Regions from separate parts of the Homo sapiens genome. Here region 2 is linked to region 1. Evidence: promoter capture Hi-C in 16 types of primary human blood cells and fetal thymus (Javierre and others, 2016). All regions are on one chromosome and are shown on one strand. The core of a region is centred on a gene start or on the middle of the fragment in contact, and the rest is flanking DNA. Distances in the headings are between cores, read along the strand shown.

The links. Contacts are between HindIII fragments. The CHiCAGO score rates a contact against its expected background, and 5 or more counts as called.
Region 2: a contact is called between a fragment that was not itself captured here and the fragment with the promoter of FHOD3 in region 1, in 4 of 17 cell types (megakaryocytes, M2 macrophages, endothelial precursors and 1 more). The highest score is 6.5, in megakaryocytes.

The regions. Positions count from the first base shown.
Region 1 is chr18:36,294,423-36,300,053 of GRCh38, forward strand. FHOD3 (formin homology 2 domain containing 3) reads left to right here and starts at 3,291. Exons shown (of 29, transcript NM_001281740.3): 1 at 3,291-3,578. The coding sequence starts at 3,414. RefSeq lists an enhancer at 2,137-3,114 and silencers at 3,054-3,343, 3,464-3,533. The HindIII fragment of the contact is 3,286 bases long and covers 1,257-4,542 here.
Region 2 is chr18:36,091,736-36,097,366 of GRCh38, forward strand. No RefSeq gene overlaps it. Among named protein-coding and RNA genes, the nearest start is that of RPRD1A, 27 kb to the left of the region's middle. The HindIII fragment of the contact is 3,639 bases long and covers 442-4,080 here.

The DNA.
Region 1 (5,631 bases), core at 2,041-4,540:
TGTGGTAGGCGTAGAGTTGAATATGGCATGGTTGTTGCCCAGAGGAGCTTTTTCTTTAGTGACAACACAGACAATAAATTAACAGTAACCATAGCTCTGGTGTTCTATGCTCCAAGGGCTTGGAGAGCATTGGAATCAGCAGACAGGCAGGTAAAGCAGTCTGGCAGACGGCAACCTTGTGGAAGAGTTTCTGGATGGGCAGCCAGGTTGGGGTGTTGGGTTGAATGTGTAATTGAGTATGATGTGGTAACCAGGATAGGGATGTTTAGTTGCCCAGTGAAAATCAGAGCCTAGAAGGGAGGAGAGGGACTCCTCTGTGAGTATAGAGTTGGATGCATGCAGGTTGAGGACGGTTGAAGCCAGGAAAATCTAGAGGAAATGTGAACAGGACCAAGAGGAGGATGAAGCCCAGAAAGACTTGAGAAGGAGCTGTCAAAGGAGGAGGAGAACCTACAGTGGGTAGAGCTATTGAGCTGAGGGGGTAAGAGTCTGAGAAAAGAATCTTCCATGGTGCCATGGTGACAGATGCTGCCAAGAAAGTGGGTAGCAGGGCCAAGGTGTCCTCCAGGTAAGAAAATTAGGCTGGCATTGATGATCTTAGAATGGCAGGAAGGGGTTTCCTTCCAGATGTCATGGGGTATGGAGAAAAGGTGATGAGGATGCTAAGAAATGAATATGGCTCTCTCTCAGAAGTTGGTTAGGAAGTGATGATGAGATAAGCCAGGGAGCTAGAGTGAGAAGTGGGCTTCATAAAGATGCAGCTTTTAAGATGGAAAACACTTGAGTATTTATTCTCATTAGGATTGAGTACATAACTTATGGGGCCCAGTGCACAACTAAAATGCCGGGACTCCTTAAAAAAGTATTTAAAAAATTCAAGACAACAACAGCTAAACATTAAACCAATTTGGGACCCTTTAAAGTGCAGAGCCCTGTGTGGCTTCAAGAGTTGCACATCAGGAAGCAGGCCCTGGTTCTCAGGGTAAGGGGCCAGGGGAGGAAGGTGGAAGTGAGTGGATCAGTGATAGAGCCCCAGGCAAGAGCAAGTGGGATGAAAGGGACCCAGGGTCCAGGTGGGGGCAGAGCCTTGAATGGGAGGAAAAGTATGACTTTGGTCACCTTCTGAGAAGTGGGAGATGGAAGATGGAGAGGAGATGGAAAATAAGATGAAAGATGAAGAGGAGAGGGTGCTAGAAGTCATTCTGGAGAAATTATTTACCTTATTGACTAATTTCTGAGTCGAGGAAAGGGGCAGAAGCTTGCAGCAGCATCAGTGGAGTAAGAGGCTGAGGGGCTTTGGGGTGGAAGTGGGGCACTGAGTGGTCCCACTAGCAGCAGGCACTTGGTAGATGGGGCAGAAGCAAGCCAGGTACCCAAAGGACAGGTGGGACTGAAGGAGGGGTGTGGAGAGGAGGCCCCTGAGAGGATGGGCTGGGATCCGGGTTGGAAAAGTGATAGGAAATGAGGTGGCCAGGACTGGAGGGCTCTCTCAGTGAGGAGGGAGGTGGACGTGAAGGTGGAAGTGCAGGCGGCCCATCTCAGAGGGGAAGAATTCGTGCGTTTAGTATTCTGGCTGTGAGGAGATGCGGAAGTTGGTGGAGATCCAGTCTAGATCAGGGGTCCCTAACCCCGCGGCCGCAGACCGGTACTGGTCCGTAGCCTGTTAGGAACCGGGCCACACAGCAGGTGAGCGGCCAGTGAGCGAGCATTACCGCCTGAGCTCCGCCTCCTGTCAGATCAGCGGAGGCATTAGATTCTCATGCCAGAGAGAGCCCTATTCTGAACTGCGCATGCGAGGGATCTAGGTAGCGCGCTCGTATGAGAATCTAATTCTTGATGATCTGAGGTGGAACAGTTTCATTCTGAAACCATCTGCCCTTCCTCCCCCAAACGCCCCCCACCCCCACCCCACCACTGTCCGTGGAAAAATCGTCTTCCACAAAACCGGTCCCTGGTGCCAAAAAGATTGGGGACGGCTAATCTAGAGGATTCATTCAAAGAGTTAAATAACAAAGAAAGTAGAGCTAGAAGTTCGTCTGGAAGGAGCGGAAGTGTCGTGGAATTATTATTTTAAGATCAGGCATAAGTGTGTATGTGTGGCAGGGAGGGAGATCACGGAGAGGGAGAGGTTAAAGATGTGGGTGAGGCTGCTAAATAGGGATAAGGGTTTCTTTTCCCTTGAAACCAGAGGAAAGGGAGATAGACGCGTTATAGAGTCGCCTTGAAAACACTCGGATGTTAAGAGAGACTGGGTGTTATGAGGGCGATCTATATAAGGGGGGAGGAACCAGGAACTTGGCTGTGGCCTGGGAATAGGGAGAACCGTGAATTTTTCTTGAAAACGAAGGGGGTCGCCCGTGAGCAGCGAGGAGAGCGGTGGGAGGCAGCGCCGAGTCTTGCCGCTCCCGCCTGGCAGGGGCGGGCAGGACGCAAACCTTCCTTCCCAGTCCCTCGGTTACCAGGGCATCCCCGGCTCTCTGCAATTCGGGAACCTTGCCAGAAGGGCTCCCACCTCCCCAAGCCCCCGCGGCCCCACAAGGTCCAATTAGGGCTTTCGGCGGCCTAACTGGGGAGAGGCCGTGGTGATGCAGAGGTTTAACCAGCATCCGCCGGGAGCCCCGGGGTCCAGGCCCGGCGCTGGAGTCCCGCAGCGAAGCCTCGCAGCCCCCACGCCTCTCGACTCTAGGCTTGTGCCCTAAAAGCGGCCTGGGTTCCCTGGCGCACCCTCCTCTTTCTTAGCTTCTTTGTCCCTAAGGGAAACCTCCCCGTACCCTTAGGTGGGGCTCCCGGTCACTGCCACCACCCCTCTTGCTGCCGAAGCCGGCTCCCTGGCCACCTGGTGCCCTGCCGGGGTATTCCAAATCTGGGCAGCAGAAGCCGGCCGCCGCCGCCTTCATCTGGAAAGGCTTAAGCCTTCTCCGGGTGGGGAAGAAGTCAGAAGGCCGCCTGTCTCCCCGTCCCCCAACCCCCCAACTCCCCAACTCGGTCCTCCAGGCTCCGAGGGGTGCAGCTCGGCCCTGGGCCGCGGGGCGCACGTGCAGCAGAGTCCGGCCGCCCGGCCTCCCCGCCCCGCCTCCGCCGCCGGCCTTTGGCGCAGGGCTGCGGATGCCGCGCGAGCCGTCTCCTTTGCACTTTCCCGGCTGCGGTCCGGTCGTTCGGGGCAGCCCGGCCGGGGGTAGAGGACCCGGAGGAGGGGAGGAGCCGGAGGGAGAGGGGAAGGAGGGGGCCCGCCGGCCCCGCCCCCGCCCCGCCCCCCGCGGCCGGAGCCCGGGCTGCAGCCCGGCGCGCCTGAGCCTGCGAGTCCGCGAGCCAGCGAGCTGCGGCTGCGGCCTCCCCTGCGCGCAGCTACCCGGGCGTCCCGGCCCGCGGCCCCGCTAACCCCGGGGCCCGCGCCCCCGCGGCAGGGATGCATCATGGCCACGCTGGCTTGCCGGGTGCAGTTCTTGGACGACACGGACCCTTTCAACAGCACCAACTTCCCCGAGCCCAGCCGGCCGCCGCTGTTCACGTTCCGCGAGGACCTCGCGCTCGGCACCCAGCTGGCGGGGGTCCATAGGCTGCTGCAGGCGCCGCACAAGGTACGACCCGGCGGGGTGGGCTGGGCCCCCTGGACTCAGCCCCCTGCCGCGGTGCGCGCCGGGGTGGGTCCCGGGGCTTCGTGGGCCCCCTGGGCTGGGCTGGGCGCGGCCCGGGGGGACCATCGCTCGAGGGCAAATCCCCCTCCCCGTTAGACAGAAGGGCTCGAGGCACCCGCTGGTTGGCGCAGGACCCTCCGGGGCGGGCGGGAAGGAACAGCTAGAGCCGGGGGCGGGCGTGGCAGAGCAGGTGCCGAGCCGGTCCGAGGCGGGATGGAGAAGGCTCCCCCGAGCCGCGCCGTTAGCTCGGCCGGGTGGGCGGGGTGGGGCTAGGACGCGGGCAGTCGGCCTCGGCACTCGGGCGGGCACCAAGCGGGGCGCGGGAAGAAGCGGAGCGCCGCGAGACTCAGGTCCCTTGGAGAGGAGAGCTCTGAGCGACGGCCGGGACAAAACCTCCCTCAGGCCTCTGGGGCCGCTGCGGGCGGCCACGCGACCCTCGCGACAAAGCACGCTTCCCGGCGACACCGCCTCCTCCTTCCCCCGGGGGCGCCGCCGGGGACGCCGGCCGCACACTGCGATAGCGCTCAGGGTATCCCCCTTTTCTTCTGAGAAGCAGGTGGCCTTGGGAACCTCGGAGGAGCAGTCGCTGTGGGAGGAGGGGCGGGGGCGCGGAGGGGCGGCGCGCTCACAAAGCCTCAGCTTGGCAGCCCGAAATGAGTGTCCCCTGGGAAGAATGGCTGCTCAGTCTACCCGTTAGAGAGGTTTTTTTTTTTTTATTTGTTATTTTTATTTAAATAAAACCTTTTGCAGGAGGATAGGCCTCTTGCAAAGCATTTGTTGCAAAGAGGTGGGTATTGAAAGCTAATCATTTCGTTACCTAGGAAAACCCTTACTCTCACTTAGACAGATTGAATGCAGCTTGCAAAATTACCTTCCCAGTATTTTTTCTGCCTAGGATTCATATCAAAGCTTGGAGATGATTTATTTCTTGAGGGTCGACATTAACACATATTTGGAAGAGATAAGCGTTGATGCCCAAAAGAACAAAATTGATTTAAAAAAAAACCTCGGATTTCTGTATGATGTTGACCTGCTTTGCAAGTAGAGGAGGAGGTTGGTTGTGTGAGGAAACTGGTGGACTTTAGCAGTGGTAGTTTCCTCTCTATTAATGTATCAGTGCTTTCCTCCTCTACTTAGTTAGTAACGTTTTCAGGAATAAGGAATGGGGCATTTCCATCTCATTCTCTCCTGGTTGGTTCAGGACGGATACAGTCGTGGAAACCTCTCTGGCCACAAAAGCACATTTGATTGGGAGACAGAGGGTCGTCATCATCCAGAGTGATGTATTCTGGATTCAGCTGATCAGAATCACTTTTGTAAATTATTTGGTTCTTCTCAATTAGTTGATTCAGTGAAAAGTTTTCAAAGAGCTTCTTCTACATCATGATTATTCAGGCCACTACGGTCTCTGATTACAGTGATCTTTTGTTGAAACCACCAAAGGCTCATAATTGTGGCCCTGTGACCTTGAAGTGGTTTCCTTGGATTTCAAACCTTATATACATGGGTTGACCTTTCAAGCTGGGAGCTGCAGTATGTTTTCATGTTTCCATGGAACAGCCCCACAGTCTTGATCCTGGTCTGGTAGGAGAAAATCCTGATGCTCCTCCACTGCCCCCCTCCTCACCCCCAACTAGAAGCCCCAGCAGAGCAGTTGCACTGGCTTGCAGAACTTTCTAAGGTGTCCCTTATGGAATGAACAGAACCAGAAGTGGTTCTACAGAGACCCTTGACCTTTGTTTTGGGGGCCAGCCAGCCTCAGTCTCAGAATCTTTTGCCCGAAGACCCCTGCAGTATATTTAGATGTCTGGCATTGTTTTTCCCATCTACAGCAGAGTGAGCAACCGACTTTATTGATGAGGGTTCTGTAAAGCAGAAGTCAGGGCATTTATGTGCCTGGGTATACATTCATATTGTTAAGATGATACTAATTTCCATCAGAGAATCTTAAAATTGGATGATCCACCTTGATAGAAACAGCTGGAGTTTCAAGCAC
Region 2 (5,631 bases), core at 1,011-3,510, 200 kb before region 1:
CCTCACTCCTTGTGACAATAAAAAATGTCTCCACACATCACCAAATGTCTTATATGGGCAAAATTGGCCCCAGTGGCAACTACTTCTTCAAAACTGCCCTGAAGAACTGCACTGCAGATATTTGCTTCTACATCTGTCTTCACTTCTCTTCTGCGAAATCCTAAAGGCCTGGACAACTTCTTCCTTATCTTAGGATAGCCAGTGACTGATTCTTGCTCAGATCTTCATAGGAAGCACCCTGAAAGGCCAAGGAAGCATTGGCAGATCTTCCTAGAACTTCAGGAAATCTGAGGCCATCACATCTAGCTCTAGCACTCCGTGTGGTGCCTTAATCACTTCTACAATGTCCCCTCCAGATTCTGTAAAGAATTCAAGCAATTGACACTTATCTCCCTGCAGGGGTGGGGGGCTCATTTTTAAAAAGTTTTTATGGTAAGCTGAAGCTTGCTGACTGTCTGACTTTACCCAGTGTCTCAATCCTTTTTTTTTTTTTTTTTTTTTTGAGACATTCTTGCTCTGTCACCCAGGCTGGAGTGCCGTGGCACGATCTTGACTCACCGCAACCTTTGCCTCCTGGGTTCAAGTGATTTTCGTGCCTCAGCCTTCTGAGTAGCTGGAATTACAGGCATGTGCCACCACACCCGGCTAATTGTTGTATTTTTAGTAGAGATGGGGTTTCACCATGTTGGCCAGGCTGGTCTAAAACTCTTGGCTTCAAGTGATCCACCTGCTTTGGTCTCCTAAAGTGCTGGGATTACAGGCATGAGCCACCCATGCCTGGACCCATTGTTCCAATTCTATTCTCTGAATTCTTATAAAATTAGCCTAACTTTACTTCCACATGATAGCCTTTTAGGTTTATGAAGACTACCATTATAATCATTCACTCAATCATTTAACAAATACATACTTGAAAAGGAGAAAAGCAACCACTGACATGTGCAGTTGGCCTGGCTCTATCACCTGGCCCTCTGTGGTGTTAGGAGCTCATCTGGCATCACAGACAGGTCATGGTATTCTTCTGATGAACATAAACAATCTCACAGAGCACCTACATCAGACAAGGGCACTCTATGACCTCGGTAAAGTGAGACAAAAACCAAACCAAACAAAAACAAGACCACTTCATAAATTTTATCCAAGAACAGGAAAAAATAAAGTCACTGTGTAAACCACAAAAATAGCCTCCTCTTCCTGCTAATATAACTGCTGCTTCTTTACCAATTATATCCTTAGCCTTGCTCTCTTCTTCCCCCTTCTAAAAAAAAATTTATTAAAATACCCAATCAGATAATTATTCCTGCTTCCTGGCATCATTCAATTCAGAGCAAAACCTCACTTCCTTGAAACCTCTGCCAAATCACCTAACTTAAGCCCAAATCCTCCTTGCTAACATACCAAGCCATTCCATGGTTCCCCCTCTTGTACATTCTCTTTCATGACAACAAGCCAAAAACTCAACTTGTTCAATTACAGGTATGTTCCTGGTGGTCTTTGGCTGGAAGGCATTGACATACTGAACACCTAATATAAGCCAGGCACTAGGGATAGGGCAATGAATAAAACAAACAAAAATCTGTGTCTCCGTCAGAGCTTCTGTGGAAGTGAAGAGTGAACCAGGTGAAAGCATAATATGGTGTGTTAGTTGTGCTATGTGCCATGTGGAAAAGTAATGTCGAGGAAGGAATATGGCTGTTGGGATTTTGGTTCACTAGGAACAGGCTTACTAAGGTGCCACTCTGAGATCTGAGGGAGGGGACATGTGACCCGTGCAGCTATTTCGGGGTGTTCAAAGAGCGAATGGCCAATACAAAGGCCCTAGGACAGGAAGGTGCCTGGGGTGGCTCAGGAGCAGCACGGAGAACTCCTGTGGCTGGAGTGGGTGATCAAAGAGGAGAGGAGTAGGAGACAGTAAGATGGGGCGTGAGGAGAGAACAATGATCAAATAGGGTCTTATAAACCACTGCCAGGATTTTGGCTTTTACTTTGCATAAGTGAGATGGGAAGTTGTTGCAAAGCGTTGAACAGAAAAATCACGTGGTTTCTTCTTCTTTCTTTCTTTTTTTCCTTTTCTTTCTTTCTGTTTTTTTTTTTTTTTTTTTTTGACAGAGTCTTGCTCTGTCACCTAGGCTGGAGCACAGTGGCATGATCTTGGCTCACTGCAGCCTCCGCCTCCCGGGTTCGAGTGACTCTCATGCCTCAGCCTCCTCAGTAGCTGGGATTACAAACACATGCCACTATGTCCACCTAATTTTTGTATTTTTAGTAGAGACAGGATTTTGTCACATTGGCCAGGCTGGTTTCAAACTCCTGACCTCAAGCGATCCTCCCACCTCAGCCTCCTAAAGTGCCGGGATTACAGGCGTGAGCCACTGTGCCCGGCCCAACATTTTTTTTTTTTTGTAAAATATCTTTCTAGCACACTACATTGTTTATCTATTTAACTTACTTCTTGTCCGCCTATTCTTTTTTTTATTTTTTTTGTAAAGACAGGGTCTCGCTATGTTGACCAGGCTGGTCTTGAACTCCTGGCCTCAAGCAATCCTCCTACCTCTGCCTCCCCAAAGTGCTGGGATTACAGGAGTGAGCTACTGACCCCAGCCTCTCTGCCTATTCTTACTAGAATAAACGTTCAATGAGAGCAAGGATTTGGGTCTATTTTTCTAATTAACAAACACTGCACAGAACAGTGTCTGGTTATAGTAGGGGCTCAATAAGTACTTGTTGAATGAATAGTTTTTGGATCCATTGTGACTTTTGTCTCACATCCATGAGCATGCTCCTTTGGCAGTGTTTCTCTAAAATGATCAGGGGATGTTCCAGCCAAATTCTGGAATAGTAGGATGTTTCTCCTTTGTTCAAACCCTGGCATTTTATGGTGCAGCCCAGCAAGCCTAGCCTGTTTGGCAGGCATATCAGCCACTTCATGCCTCCCTATCCAGAACCTTGTACTTTTCCTGCGAAGAAGAAAATCTACAGTCAGCCAACCCCTCGTAGCTCAGGATATGTGCTGTATCTCTAACAGTGGAATCACACATCTCATAGGAAATGGAGAAAAAGGACATCAGACATCCGACTGCAAAATCTCTTTTAAGAAAGGATGTCCCCAATAAAAGAACAAAGAAAGGAAGGAAGGAAAGAAGGAAGGAAGGCAGGAAGGCCCAGCTTGGGCAACATAGCAAGGTCTCATCTCTACTAATATATACATAAATAAATAAAACCGGCATGGTGGCGTGCACCTGTAGTCCCAGCTACTCAGAAGGCTGATGTGGGAGGATTAATTGAGTCTAGGAGTTTGAGGTTGTAGTGAGCTATGATTGTGCCACCTGCACGCTAGCCTGGACAACAGAGTGAGACCTTGTTTAAAAAAAAGGAAAAGTAAAGATGCCAAACTTGAACTCCCAAATTTTCAACTTTGGAGACCGTAGACAGGAGTTTAAGTTTCTTCTGTGGCATCAACTAGCTCTAGGACTTTAACCAAACCAATTAACCTCTCCAAACTTCGTTTTAGTCATCTGCAATATGAAACTAATAAGGCCTATATAGTAAGGCTGTTATGAGGATTGGGTAGAATTATGTAGAGGACTATAGTAGACCTTAGTAAATGCTATTTTTTCTTACTTCATAATCTCTTCCCATTTGCCAAATGTTTTCGGCTAAGATGAAGTGGGAGTAAAAATTAGCTGGGCGTGGTGGTGAGTGCCTGTAATCCCGGCTACTCAGGAGGCTGAGGCAGGAAAGTCACTTGAACCCGGGAGGCGGAGGTTGCAGTGAGCCGAGATCATGCCATTGCGCTCCAGCCTGGGCAACAAGAGCGAAACAGCGAAACTCCGTCTCAAAAATAAATAAATAAATAAATAAATAAATAAATAAATAAATAAATAAAGGACAACTGTGATATCTATTCTTTTGTATCTGGCTTTTCCCACTTAGCATATGTTTTCAAGGTTCATCCATGTTGTAGATAATTTTTTGTCTACAACGTTTTTGGAGATAAATTTGTTTTGTCTACAATTTTTTGTAGACAATTTTTAAATTGCATTTTCTTGTATGAGTGAGATTGAAATCCTGTAATATGTAAGCTTTTATATGATAAAAAGCCATTTGCGTCTTTCTCCATGACCACTTAATTCATGTTTGTAGTCCATTCCTCCTATCCAAGAATAGGAAATAACTTTACATGTACTCAAATATTTTGGCCCATCAGCAGCATTTGAGTTTCTCTTCACATACTTCTTGCACAGTTATGTTAAATAAAACTAGTTCTTTAAATTTACACCAAAAAAATAGCTAGTAATTGAACACTAGTAGCATCATTTCTAAATTAGTCATCTTCTCAATTTGTAAAATTTGAAGTTGTGTTAAAATTCCACAAGGTGGCAGACTGGTTCTACTAAGTTGGGCTTACTGCATGGGTTTAAATAACATCCTAAATGTGTTATATGCATTCAATGGAATAGTATTTAGCTTTAAAAAAGTGATATTCTGACACATGCTTCAACATAAATGAAAAAACTTTGATAAGATTATATTAAGTGAAATAAGCCAGTTACAAAAGGACACATATTGTATGTTCCACTTAAATGTGTAGTCAAAATCAGAAAGACAAAGTAGAATGGTGTTTGGCTGGGAAAAGAAGAAATGGGGAGTTATTGTTTAATGGATCCACAGTTTCACTTTCAGAAGACATAAAAATTCTGAATATGGATGGTGGTGACGACTGCACAACAATGTTAGTGTACTTAATGCCACTAAATTGTACACTTAAGAATGATTAACAAGGTAAATTTTATGTTATTGTATATTTTACCACAATAAAAAAGATGGTAAAAAATAAGATTCAAGTAAAGAAATGTATAAAGAATACAAAAGTCTTCCACTGTACTGTGTATCCTTCCAAAATTTCTGTAAGTACACCCACACCCAGGTGTGGTGTGTACTCAATATTTTACACTGTATTGTTCAATCAAGAGAAATATCCACCTCATCCTTTTTTAGAAAAAAACTTAGGAAAAGTTACTTTTTTCCTATGCAGTAGAATTCTGTGAGATTCACTACATATAGATTTGTGTAACCACCACCAAAATCAGGATACAGAATGATTCCATTACCATCTCTCAACCCCTGCCCCCCAAAAATCAAACTCCTATGCTAGTATTTTACAGTCACAGCCTTCCCAAAATGAACCCTGGGCAACCACTGATCTTTTCTTCCTATCATATTATCTTCTCCAGAGTACCATATAAATGGAAACATGTAATATGTAACCTTTTGAGTCTGCCTTCTTTCACTTAGCAAAATCACCATGTATTCATGGAGGTTGTTGCCTGTGTCAGTAGTTTATTCTTCTCACTACTGGGTAGTATTGCACTACACAGATATACCACAGCATTATTTATCCATTCAACTGTTGAAAGACACTTGGGTGGTTTCCAGTTTCTGGTGATTGTGAATAAAGCTGCTATACAAGTTTTTGTGCAAATGTTAAGTTTTAATTAGTCTAGGGCAAATACACAGGAGAGGGATTGTTGGGTCATAATGTACCCATAATGTAGTTGTATATTTACCTTTGTAAGAAATTACCAAATTGTTTTCCATAGAGGCTGTACCATTTTGCATACCCACTACCAA